Regions from separate parts of the Homo sapiens genome. Here all the other regions are linked to region 3. Evidence: promoter capture Hi-C in 16 types of primary human blood cells and fetal thymus (Javierre and others, 2016). All regions are on one chromosome and are shown on one strand. The core of a region is centred on a gene start or on the middle of the fragment in contact, and the rest is flanking DNA. Distances in the headings are between cores, read along the strand shown. Region 1 overlaps LINC01147 (long intergenic non-protein coding RNA 1147). Region 2 overlaps GALC (galactosylceramidase). Region 3 holds the start of KCNK10 (potassium two pore domain channel subfamily K member 10).

Region 1 (4,008 bases), core at 1,337-3,836, 300 kb before region 3:
ATGAGATGCCTGGAATCCTTGTGGCCATTTTGTTAACATGAAATAGCCAATGCATGGGAAAAAGGAGAGCTCAGGGAATCACACAACACTGGAGCTGTGTCCTAAAGATACAGAGAGTCTTGAATATTGCAGGTACATGAACCAAATACACTTCCTTATTATTTTAATGTGAATCTGGTATTTTTGTTCCTTGAATCCTGAAGGATCCTAATGGAATTTGGAACATGGAAGTGAGGGTGATGTTACAGACTCCAGACTGTTGAATAGGCAGAGCTGAAGAGCTGCAGTGGAGAAGGCAATGCCAAGATAGAGCTAGCTTGTGATGTTAGTAACCCATGTTAAGTGGTAGCAAAATCTCTGGTTAAACTATTTCCTGCTATATCCCGAGACTCAGATAATGTCCACCAAGGGTCTGGAATCAAGACTTTGGAAGGAAAAATTCAAAATGTTGGTGGTTTTTGGCTTCCTCTTATAGCTTTCAATAAACTGCCACAAAAGACAGATAAAATAATACAATTTTTTGAGAGCTTTTCTGTTAAATTTTTCAAATCCAGAAAACACTGCTGCCCTGTGGGGCCTACACACAGAAACAGTGTGTTTTATGCTTCAGGAAAAGGGTAAACTTTAGCTAGAAAAAGCAAGTCAGCATTGTTTGTGAGTCACTAGTGAGTGGAGTCTCAAAAGCCAGACACTATGGGGAAATAAAAGAACTTTTTAAACCTCTTAGGCTCCCATCTCATATCAAGAAGTAGGCCTGGCTGACTTAAAATTGGAGTTTTCTCTATGCCAGGGGGTAGTGAGAACCAATCATGATGTAAACGAAGCTTCTATTATTCAGGGAAATGAAAAAGCCTGGGCTCCTGACCGCAGTGGTCTAAGGGGAGGAGGCAAAGAAGAGTTAAAATGAGGATGTCGGAGACAAATGTTGATCCTCATGGCCTGAGATCAATAGAATTTCCAGAGTTGCCAGGATGGTCAATGCCAATAGTCTGCTTTTCCTGAAGATAGCTGCAAGCCTCTGGGGAAAACCCCATATTCAGCCTTATGCATGCACTTTACTGTGGTACAAAAATAGAGACTGGCATACAGTTGTGCAGGTTGAGTGTTGCACAAGAAATCCATGTCTAAGAGGGCACCATTCATTTAACAGACATTGAAGATTTGCACATTTATTATGTCCATTTTAAAGCATATGGCAACAAGATGCTTGCTCTAATAAAAGCAGCACGACAACTTTCCAACAACTGGAAGGAAGGTATCATAAGGAAGACACATCTTACTTTTACAGAATGCCCCATGAGCAGCATAGCCCTGCCTCTGCCCTGCTACCATAAGGTCACGTAAGCCTCTCCAACCCCGGAACCACCATGGGAGGAGCTAAGGTAAGTGGAGTATATCTGAAAGACTGAATGTTTAGCCCAGAGTAGCTGAGCTAACCTAAAAAGACAGTTTAAGCAAGAAAACGTGGTGATATCATTAATTCGCAAGTAAAATAATTTTTTGCACTGATACCCAGTAGGTTGGTAAATCAGAAAGAAGAATAAGAATAAGGAGTAGAAGAAGAAGAAGAAGAAACAGTCAGAGAAAATAAGCTACTGTTTTAGGTGCACATGCAGTTGAGTTGTTGTGTGACCACTGTCTCTCAGATGTCCCAGCTTTGACAGGAGGTGGCCTCCCTGGAAAAGAGAAGAAAACATAACTTTTAAGAAAGGATGAGTTCATGTCCTTTGCAGGGACATAGATGAAGCTGGAAACCATCATTCTCAGCAAACTAACACAAGAACAGAAAACCAAACACCACATGTTCTCACCCATAAGTGGGAGTTGAACAATGAGAACACATGGACACAGGGAGGGGAACATTACATACCGGGGCCTGTCGGGGGTTGGAGGGCTAGTGGAGGGATAGCATTAGGAGAAATACCTAATGTAGATGACGGTTTGATGGTGCAGCAAACCACCATGGCACATGTATACCTCTGTAACAAACCTGCACGTTCTGCACATGTACCCCAGAACTTAAAATATAATAATAATTTAAAAAATGATACTATCCACCTATGATCTAGAATCCAGGTTGAATATAGGTCCAATCACCTAGTGCAATGGTTCTCAAACTTTAATGTTTATAAGAATTAACTAGGAATCTTAGTTTAAAAGATTCTTATTCAATACATCTGAAGTGGGGCCTGAGATTCTACATTTCTAAGAAATTCTCAGGTAATGCCAGTGCTGCTGGGCCCTGGGTGTGGGTGTGGAGTTACATAATTTTAGAGTCTAGAGAAGAGGTTCTCAAACTTTAGTATGGATGAGAATCACCTGGAGAGCTTGTTAAGACAGAGCGCTCAGACTGTAGTCTACTCTTGTGTCATCACTGAGTCTTGGCCAATCAAAGGTGACCAACTCTTCAAACTGTGTTCAAATGATGCAAACATCAAGTAGCAACCCATCTGGTTGTTTCTGTACCTCACACCATTTTCTGTATGTCACTTTCTTTCTTCTATCTATAAATCTTCCACCATTTGGCTGTGCTGGAGTCCCTGAGCCTACTCTGGCTCAGGAGTCTGCTCAATTTGCAAATTGTTCTTTGCTCAATCCCTCATCCCCAGAGATTCTGATTCAGCAGGCCTAGGGTGGGGCCTGAGAATTTGTGTTTTTGACAAGTTCCCTGATAACACTGATGTGAGTGGGACACACTTTGAGAACTACTGCTCTCAAATAGAGTGCAGCCCTTTCCTAAGTACCTCCTATTAATTGCCATCTACCAGAAAAAAAGGTACAGTCCCACCCAGTGAAGAGATGGATCCCTCCCACCCCCAAGTTCAGGCCCAACCTGATGTTTGCTGAGACAGAAATTCTCAAGCTAAGGTCTAGGCTCAAAGACTGCAGCTAATCAGGTTTCTGGCTGTGGTCTCTAACCTGCAGAATTGAGAAGAAGCAAACTGAAAGCAGCCAGCTTTTTAAGGGATCTATGTGATCTTTCACCCCTGTCTGATCTCATCACCCAGTGGTGCAGGCCACATTTGGTTCTTATGCCATGCCTTGGCCAATGGTGTTCATATCCATCTCTTCCTCCAAGTTGAAAGCTATTTAAGAACAGAAATCATGTTTAATTCACGTCTTAATTCCCTCTGAGCCTATCCTCAGCTCCCTTCCTAGAAACTAGCAGAGTTTTACATATTCTAGATGTAACAGGAATCCTATTTAGAAGACATTAAATTGTTACATTTTCCATTCCCATATAAGTGATTGTTCTCCCAAAGGCTTTCCATCATTAAAGCCCAGTTTATTGCCCAGGAAAAAGGAGGAAAGTATCAAAATGCCACAATGCATGAAGGAAGATATTACTTGGTGATGCCCTACTGGACAGTGTTAAATCAAGTTTAGCTTAAAGCTGCCTCCTTGTGTATTTTAAGTTCAGCCTAAAGGTTTCTGTGTACATCATGAACTATAACCTAAATGGAGTTGCACTCAGACTGTAGTCTACTCTTGTGTCATCACTGAGTCTTGGACAATCAAAGGTGACCAACTGTTCAAACTGTGTTCAAATGATGCAAACATCAAGTAGCAACCCATCTGGTTGTTTCTGTACCTCACACTAGTTTCTGTATGTCACTTTCTTTCTTCTATCTATAAATCTTCCACCATGTGTCTGCACTGGAGTCCCTGAGCCTACTGTGGCTCAGGAGGCTGCTCAATTTGCAAATTGTTCTTTGCTCAATTAAACTCTGTTAAATTTAATTTGGCTAAAGTTTTTCTTTTAACAACAAAAAGATGAAGTAGATATACCTTCTGATTCTACGAAGAATCCATGAGGTACAGAAAGCGAGAGCAAGAGATAGGACATATTTCCGGATTCATATTAAGAGAGATCAGCAAGGAAACCCAGAAGCAGAGCGGCAGAGGGGACTCATGCCTTGTTTGGGGTTCAGGGAGGAGATCACCTTTTAGGGCACCCCTGCATTAGTAAAATTGCAACAGAACAGAAAAATCGACATGGTGGTATAC
Region 2 (4,152 bases), core at 1-2,500, 390 kb before region 3:
AAAAGCCTCATATACTGTTCCAATGAAACAAGAATTGGCTCTGAACCAAAACCAAAAAGAAGGGAAGAAAATCCAGAGTATTCTATGATGCCCTGTTAAGTATTAGCGTGTGGCTTCCACAAGAAAGTTGTCAAACTGTGCAAATTCAAAGGAGTGAGTTCCAATTGCAGCCCAGCCATTCTTTGGAAAATTCACAGGGATGTCTGTCCACAGAGACTTGTCATTCAGCATGCCAGAGGTGAAATGACCCTAGAGTAGAAAGAAACACATTCCTTGAAACCATATGAAAATGGTCCTCTGAAGTCTGTTTCTTGATCATGTATGGCCCACTACTTAGTGGAGCAAATGTACTACTCACTCAAGACTTAACCACAGCAAAACACAATTCCACAAGTTTGAGCAAAAGTTTAAAATACAGGAAAAAACTCTAGGAAGAAATTCTTATCTACCTACTTAAATCGTTCCCAAAGTACAAGGAATACCTCAATATTTCCTGTGCTCCACCAAAATTTAAAACCAACAAAATGCAAAACTTTTCAGGCATTATTATAAAGTTTTAGAAAAAAGCTCATTAAAATTTAACAAAAGTTATTTATAAGTAGTCACATGTACAAGTGGTGTGGCTAACAGCCACCAGCTCTTCAGACATGACTGCTGGAGTCAAAACATCTGCTTCTACCTCATTGCTTCCTTAAGGTTTTCATTAAGGAGCCTCTGCCCAGCCAGAAGAAAAATAATTAACCTTAGTTTTTGTGTTTTGTTGCCATGAATAGAATATCACTTCAAAGCCATATGAAGCTCCTACCCTTAAGTTGGAAAAACAGTAACCATCAGTTAAAGTGATGCTGGAGTAGGGTGCAGCGGGTGGAAGAAGGGAGGCATCTATAAGGTGTGACTTACTGGTCACTGACAGTGAAAGAAAAAATTACACCTTCCTCCGAATGTTGCCATTCTACTTAGCTCAGTGCCTGGCACATGGTAAACAATAAATCTCAGCTCTTATTATCTTTATGATAGTACATTTATGAGCACATATTCACAGCATACTAACTACAGTCAATCATATAAAACTAGCTACTCTCAGAAGGTGAAGAGCTCAAAACTCAAAGCACTGGGCCAAGAACCAGAATAAATCTGCTTTTAAGTCTTGGAAGTATAACGTAATGGGCCTTAATTTAGTTCTTTTATTTTATGCGTGGAAACACTGAGGCTTAATAGATTAAAGCTCAAAGTCACAGGTTTTCACTCCAAGTTACCTAGCTCCAAATTCAGAGCCACATTCCTATTACTACAGACTTGCACAGCTATCTTCAGCTCTAGAAGTGCTTACTGAACATCTTCTGCTGCCATCAAACACTCAATATTAACACCGAGCCAAGGGACTCAAATCACAGATCACATTAAGCACAAAACCTGTCTAACAGGACCTTATCTCTCCTGACTCCCCAGACTTCAGCCACCCCAGCCTCCAGGCTGCTCTTCACACAATGTCAGCTACACCTGCCTTTTGCACCTGCCACTTGGTCTGCTCAAATTGTTCTTCCCAGCATTCAGGTCTGCACTCAAGTACTACCCACTCAGTGAGGTCTTTCCTCACCTCCCTGGTTAGAGAATCAGGGTAACAGAGCTACTTTATCTCATGACTCTATTTTTTCTTCATAATCATTTATAAACTTATTTACAAGTTTATTATCTCAGGATAGGGCTCAGCAAACTATGACCTACATGCCAACCGCCCTTTTTTTAATAAATAAAATCTTACTGAAACACAGCCACATCCATTGTCTATGGCTTTTTTTCTCATTATTGTCTATTGTCTATGGCTTTTTTACTCATTACAATAGCCGAACTGGGTAGCCACAGCAGAGACCACATGGCCCACGAAGTCTAAAATATTTACTATCTGGCCCTTTACAGAAAAAGTTGCCAACCCCTGTCCTAGAAGAATATATGCTCTAAGAGAGCAGGAATCTTGTCTGTTTCGTTCGCTGCTGTATCCCTAGGACTTAGTAAAGTGCATACAGTAGGGGCTTAATAAAAATGTGTTGAATATAAGAATGAAACACATTTAACCCTCAAAACAACCTCACAGAAGTTATCTCCATTTTGCAGATAAGGAAATGGATACTCAAAGAGGTGGAATAACTTGCTAGAAGTCTCAGCATGTGTTAGTGAGGAAATACGAATGCTGGTCTGTCTGGTTCCAAACACTCCTACTCCTAAAAATATTAACTTGACTCATTAAGTGCTTACCACATATCAGGTACTATATATATATATATATTTATTTATTTTCTCATTGAATCTTCATAAGAAAAGTGTTCTTCATGATATCATGGATGGGAAAATTGAAGCTGTGCAATATAAAATACTTGCAAGTAGAATATAGTAGACTTCAAAGTCCATTGTGCTACCCACCATGCAACAGAACTGGGACAAGTCACCTGACAAGTGCTGAGAAGAATTCAACAGGTGGCTGATAGTCAGTGACAAAATCCTCACATTAGCTGTAATTTGGAATATGGGCAACATAGAAGATGATGTTTTGTTTTTTTTATTTACGCAAAGAAGATTTATATGTCAAATACTGTTTAATGCACTGGGAATTTAAGATGAACAAGAAAGACAAGGTCCCTGCTCTTATGGAGCTTATATTCTAGTAGGAGATGGACAGATATGCACACACACACAAAATGAGAGCTAAAAGATAAGTAGCATGTAAAAATTAAGCCAGGTCAAGGTGACAATGGGTGCCTGACAGACTACTTTAGTGCAGATAGTTACAGAAGACCCTCAGAGTATGTGGCAAAAGCTGAGATTCAAGAGGAAACAGAATGCCCATAGTTGATGAAACACAAAATAACAGGAGTAGGGGAGTGAGGTGGGTGCAAGCCAGCAAAGTCCTATCCATCCTAGTAGCAAGACAAGAGCCAATTTTTAAAAGTAATGAATCACATTGTATTAAAGACACACCAGAAGAAACAGCTAAAATAGTGAAGAGTGGCTGTATCAGAAGTACAAGACACAGAATGGGGTCAAGAAGAAGGAACAGGATGTGAGGCAAGATGCCTCACATCCTATTGATATTTTAACCAGGTATGCAAAGTACCTGAAAAAAATTAAGAAAATTTTTAAAATCTCATTCATGATTTCAAAAAAACTCATAAAATTACTAAAACAAACCTAATCAAAAGTTTGCAAAAATAAAACTGAAGGACATAGTGGCAAATCTTAATAAATGGTGAAATATAGCATGCTTTTGTTCCTGTGTTCTCTCATGGGGAAACACATTATTGTTAAAAAAAAAAAAGTCATTTTTTCCTAAATTGATGTGTAAATTTAATGTAATACCAGCACCATTTTTCAAGTAACTGAAAGTTTGTTTTTTAAAAGTCAAATCGAATAATATATATAGTGGAATAGCAAAGATAATTTTGAAAAAGAAACAATGAGGAAGTTGCCCCACCAGATATCCATTCATTCATTTACCAAGTATTATTCGGACTCTTGCTCTGCCTGGCTGTCAGGCACTTTTCTAGGTGCTACAGAGCCAGCAGTGAGGAATATGGAGAAAAGCCTGTCACTAAAGGAGCTATGTGCTAGTGAAGGGAGTAGGAAAACACATGAACAATTAACAGAATATGTGTGATGTCAGCTTGGGATAAAACTTTTGGAGAAAAATAAAGCAACAGAAAGGAGTTAGAGAGTGAGATGGGGCGCTGTTTTCTATCAGGTGGTCAGGTAAGAAAACTCTGAAGGAAGCAAGGGAGTAGCTGTATCATCAAAGCTTTTAGAATGTGAACACCAATTAAAAGCGTGATTTTGGATAATAATAGACAAACATCAATATGGAGAACAGAAAAAAGTTCAGAAACAAGCATGTGCACATGTGCTGATTTGTTACATCAAAAAGGTAGCCTTTAAATTATGGGCAAAAGGATAGTCCATTGTAATAAATGATGGCTATCCATTTTTTAAAAAATTATATTCAGTACTTCCCCTTACAATTCACAAGTAAATTTCTGACGTATTAAAGACTTACACATAAAAATAAATCCTAAACTTTGTTTAGCTTGGGGGAAAAATGTTCCTAACCTTGAGAAACAAGAAGGCCTTATTTAAAACATGAAACATAAAAGCAATGAATAAAAA
Region 3 (4,400 bases), core at 1,581-4,080:
ACAAAATCAGTCTCACGGTACTCCCTCTGTTCCTTGAAGATCCTGACCCCAGCACTTAGACAGCTGCCCACCTAACACACCCCTTGGATGGCTTGGGGACATGTCCTACTCAACAAGTCCTAGATTGAACTCATGAGCTTTCCTTCAAGACTGGTCCTGCCCTGGCTGCCATCTCAGTCATTCCAATTCCTTCACTTCACTTCCACACATTATTCATGCAAAGCCTGTTGATTTCACGTCCTCTACAGCTCTCTACTCCGTCCGCTTCTCCATGCCCACAGCAACCACCCTGGCCCATGCTACCATTGTATCTGGTCCCCTACATCCACAAGAGCCACACAGCACTTGTTTTGAAACTTAGCTCAAATCATGTCACTCCTCGTCTTGAAACTCTTCATTGGCTTTAGATAAATACTATACTCTTCCAACCCCACAATGCTACCCCACCTCCAACAACACAGGGCTTGGAGGGGGGCGTCTCGCCTGTGGATCCCCCAGTCATATCTCAAAACACAAGCCCTCTTGCTCTCTGCTAGGGATAAATACATTTTTCAGGGATTTCCCAAAAGAAAGCCAAGGCATACTTCCGTATTTCCAGAGGTTTCAAATAGAGACAAAATGAAAGGTTTGTGCTGTATTTACAGTATAACAGCCTGGGTGTTTAAAAAAGGCAATACCTCTTCACTCACTCTGCCATAGCCATGGGAACCTCCTTTCAGTTCATCATATACACATACCTCTTCTGCCTCAGGCCCTTTGCACTTGCTGTTCCCTCTTCTGCAACAATTCCCCTCCTCCTTAGACAATTAACTCCTATACATCCTCCAGGCCTAAGTCCAAGTGTCATGTCCTCAGGGAAGCCTTCTCTGGTCCTTGTCAATCTCTTCTATCAGACACTTTCTTAAACCTCTGATGCTCTCCCTGGAGCATACATAAACTTTGAATTATGCATTCCTCCATGGAATTGATTTAGGTCTGTCTCCCTCACTGTAAACTCCAAGTCAGAGCTTTTATCTTTCCTGTTCTGACTGTATCTCCAGAGCTTAGGACAGTGTTTAGCATGTAATAGGTATTTAACAAATATGCTTTTCAGGGATTCTCCCCCCAAAAAAGCAAAGGCACACCTCCATATTTCCAGAGATTTCAAGTAGAGACAAAATAGAAGGTTTGGGCTGTATTTAAGATGTAACAGCCTCAGTGTTTTAAAAAGGCAGTATCTCTTCACTCACTCTTCAATAGCCAGTCAATTCCTAAGACATTTACTCAACAAATAAGATGGTTTCTTCTTTCCAGTCTGGAGAAAAAGAAGAAATGCGCTCATAAAGAACATTAAACACACACGCACCCCAAATAAACAAATTTCAATTCCAATACACACAGAGGCGTTGCCTAGCCTGACACAGTCGTCAGATGAGCTACAAGAAATGCTAAAGAGCATTCTTGTCACAACTGGACACGCGGTTCCAACTTGTTCTGCTCTCATACTGATCACTCCCTTGGAGCCTTAACATCTGTATGCTAATTACAGACACGGTGGCCGACGCTAGGCACACACAAATCCGTCTTAATCCCTCCCTTTTGCGTGGATGAAACCTGGTCCAACATTCGTAAAAGCATGCAAACCACACCATTGCTTGGGCGGGCACACTTCGTGCCCCTCCCCTATGCCTTGCCAGCCCCACCCTTCTCACAAACCACCCCTCCTCCTGCTTCTACTCTGACCTGAGCCTAACTAGCTGCTAGGTTTGGTAATAAGATTGAACGAAGACTCAGGAGGCCCTGTGGGCTCCATTATTCTGCATGCCCTGCGAGAACGGCCCACCCCTAGGGACGGCTGCTGCAACTCGAGCCCCACTTGCTGCCAGGAAACCTTTCCCACTGAGGACACCCGGGCATGCGGCGCAGCTCCAGGTCCAGGGGGAAGCACCCCACCCATCTGCCAGAGAGACAAAGATCACCAGAAACAAAGGACACACACACACACACACACACACACACACACTCGCACACTCAAAGTCAAAAGCAAATACCGACACTTGCAATTTCAAACCAAACAGTCGGCTTGGTCTATCTAAATAGATCTGGAGACAATCTAGGAGGGACAATGATTATGTGGTAATGACAGGCACTATCTGGGTTCGGAACCCACGCTGCCTCCGCCCTCCTCCCACCCGCGCTGCAGTTCCCAGGCGCATTTCCCAGCCTCAGGACACACGCTGCCAGAAGCAAGAGTGCTTCCACTCAAGGAAGCGCGCACACGCCGGAGACAGAGGCAGGGCGAGGGCAGCCAAAAGTAGGAAACACCCACCTTTAGGATCCCAGTTCACCTGTTTTCTTGGCGTCTCGATTGGAAATTTCATTGCTTCGTTGCCCAGAAGGGGAAGAAATGAAAAGAACCCAAATAATAATAAAGTCCTCAAGCTTTACACGCCTCGGTTTAGCAGTCCAACAAAACAATTTCCGAGGATGGGGGAGCCTTGGACTGGCTCGTGGAGGAACCCCAGAAAAAGACAGGTGGGAAAATATTAGCTTGGGGGAGAACTGGAGAGGGCTTGGGTGTTTGCACCGGCCAGGGGGTGGCCGGCCGCGGCCCCGTGGGTAAAAGAAAAAGTAAGATCGGCGAGGGGTGGATGAAAGGATGGAGAGGAAGGCTTGGGGAGATGGAAGAGCCAAGCTGCTTCCCAAAAGCGGTGCCGGCAGGTTAGGGGCTGCGCAGCCTGAAGGCTGGGGCTACGGAGAAGCCCACTGCAGTGTCACTCCAGCCCCCGAAGGCGTGTGCGCACACACTCCCGCACACACACACCCGCACACACACTCCCGGGCGCGCGCTTGGGCGGGCACGTCAGCCTCGCTCGGCCGCGCTGAGCGCACACGCCCCACCCCGGCCGCGGCTCCTCGCCCCCGGCGACGCCCCCCACTTCCCGCTCCCCGAAAGCCATTGGATGTAGGGGTGGCGCGGCGCCCGGGCAGCGCGCGGCGAGGGCGACCCTCCCCGCGGCGCGCCCCAGACGCCGCGCCCCGGCAAGAGGGAGCAGGGCGAGCAGCGGACCGAGGCTCCCAGCTGGGAAGGCGCGCTGAGCCCCCGGCACCCGGCTCGGGGCAGCGGGAGGCGGTCGCGGACTTGCCCGCGGGGCGGCGGGAGGCGGTGGGCGGTGGCGGGGAAGCCGCGGAGGGGCGGGGAACGAGCGGTGGGCGCGCCGCTACTTACTGGCTCGGCCGGCCGGCGGGCGGGCGTGGAGGCGGCAGCGGCGCGCTTGCTGGAGTTGCAGCCGGAGACACGCTTGGTTGCCTGGAAGGCGCTGCAGGAGGCGGAGGAAGGGCCGCTGCGGCTCCGCCGCAGACCTCGGCCTCCGGGTCACCTCTTCTCACCGCTCTCACCCTGAGCTCTCCCTCCTTCTCTTTTCTCACTTCATTTTTTTTCCTCCCGCGTCTGGCTCTCTCGCCTGAGTCCCGAACCCACGTCCCCGCCGCACTCCAAGGAGGCCCGTGCCAGCCATGAGCCTTTTGTTCTGGGACCGCTCCGCATCTGCTGCGCTCTCCCCGCCCGGGGAAGCTCGCTCCCAAGGCACAGCTTGGTCCCTTCCCCAGCTACCTGCAGCCGGACTGGGGCCGCTGGTCGTTGGCTGGAAAGGAGGCTTGAGAGAGGCACGGGGGCCCCCGGAGGAAAGCGGAGTTGCCAAGACCCGGCAGCTCCCGGAAGCGGCGGCCCCGGGATCCTGGGACCAGCAGGGCAGATGCGAAGGGACCCAGACCTGTTCCCGGAAAGGGGCTAAACCTGGAGCATTCGTCTAACGCCCTCTCACTGCCCCTGCTTGAAGCCCCACAGGGGTTTGTGGTGGGGCCTCAGTCTTCAGAAAAGCCAGGTGGTGCTGAGGTGCTCTTGAACGGGTCACTCCGAGTATCAACATGAATGATGCTGACAAATTGCTTCGGATGCCTCGCAACGGAGCCTTACACGTAGTAGGTGCTCAAGAAATACTTGCTAAATGAAGACATGAATTGCATGCTGCAGTGTTGGATAGGAAGTAGTTTAAACCCCTACTCTGGCTTCCAGATAAGGTTACTAAAATTTGTTGTTCATTCAACATATATATTGAACCCCTTCCAAGTGCCATCACTGTGCTATGTGCTGGCCATATGGCAGAGAACAAGACAGAGATCTTGCCTTCATGGGGCTTACTATCTAGTGCCATAAGGTCCTGTTAGATTGTTGTTGCCTTTACTTACGCATAGAAATTGCCCAGCTCATTCCTATGCCTGCCAGCTGGGGTCCTAAAATCCCACACTAGCAGCTGATCTCTAAGTTGCATGCTACTCTACGGCACCTTGAGGCTTCTGGGGAGCCCTATGTCAGCAGCATCTTTCTCACCATCCATCCGTCACTATCACATCAAGGTTTC

The links. Contacts are between HindIII fragments. The CHiCAGO score rates a contact against its expected background, and 5 or more counts as called.
Region 1: a fragment that was not itself captured here is called in contact with the fragment with the promoter of KCNK10 in region 3 in 1 of 17 cell types (monocytes); the score reaches 5.4 in monocytes.
Region 2: a contact is called between a fragment that was not itself captured here and the fragment with the promoter of KCNK10 in region 3, in 1 of 17 cell types (neutrophils). The highest score is 5.9, in neutrophils.

What each region holds. Positions count from the first base shown.
Region 1 is chr14:88,017,028-88,021,035 of GRCh38, forward strand. LINC01147 (long intergenic non-protein coding RNA 1147) reads right to left here. Exons shown (of 3, transcript NR_110121.1): 3 at 1,578-1,676. Among named protein-coding and RNA genes, the nearest start is that of HISLA, 5.5 kb to the right of the region's middle. The HindIII fragment of the contact is 3,528 bases long and covers 823-4,008 here.
Region 2 is chr14:87,934,630-87,938,781 of GRCh38, forward strand. GALC (galactosylceramidase) reads right to left here. Exons shown (of 17, transcript NM_000153.4): 17 at 1-249. The coding sequence ends at 103. Among named protein-coding and RNA genes, the nearest start is that of GALC, 56 kb to the right of the region's middle. The HindIII fragment of the contact is 5,069 bases long and covers 1-3,785 here.
Region 3 is chr14:88,320,439-88,324,838 of GRCh38, forward strand. KCNK10 (potassium two pore domain channel subfamily K member 10) reads right to left here and starts at 2,831. Exons shown (of 7, transcript NM_138317.3): 1 at 2,309-2,831. The coding sequence starts at 2,360. RefSeq lists enhancers at 2,177-2,836, 3,409-3,468 and a silencer at 3,119-3,358. The HindIII fragment of the contact is 7,039 bases long and covers 2,420-4,400 here.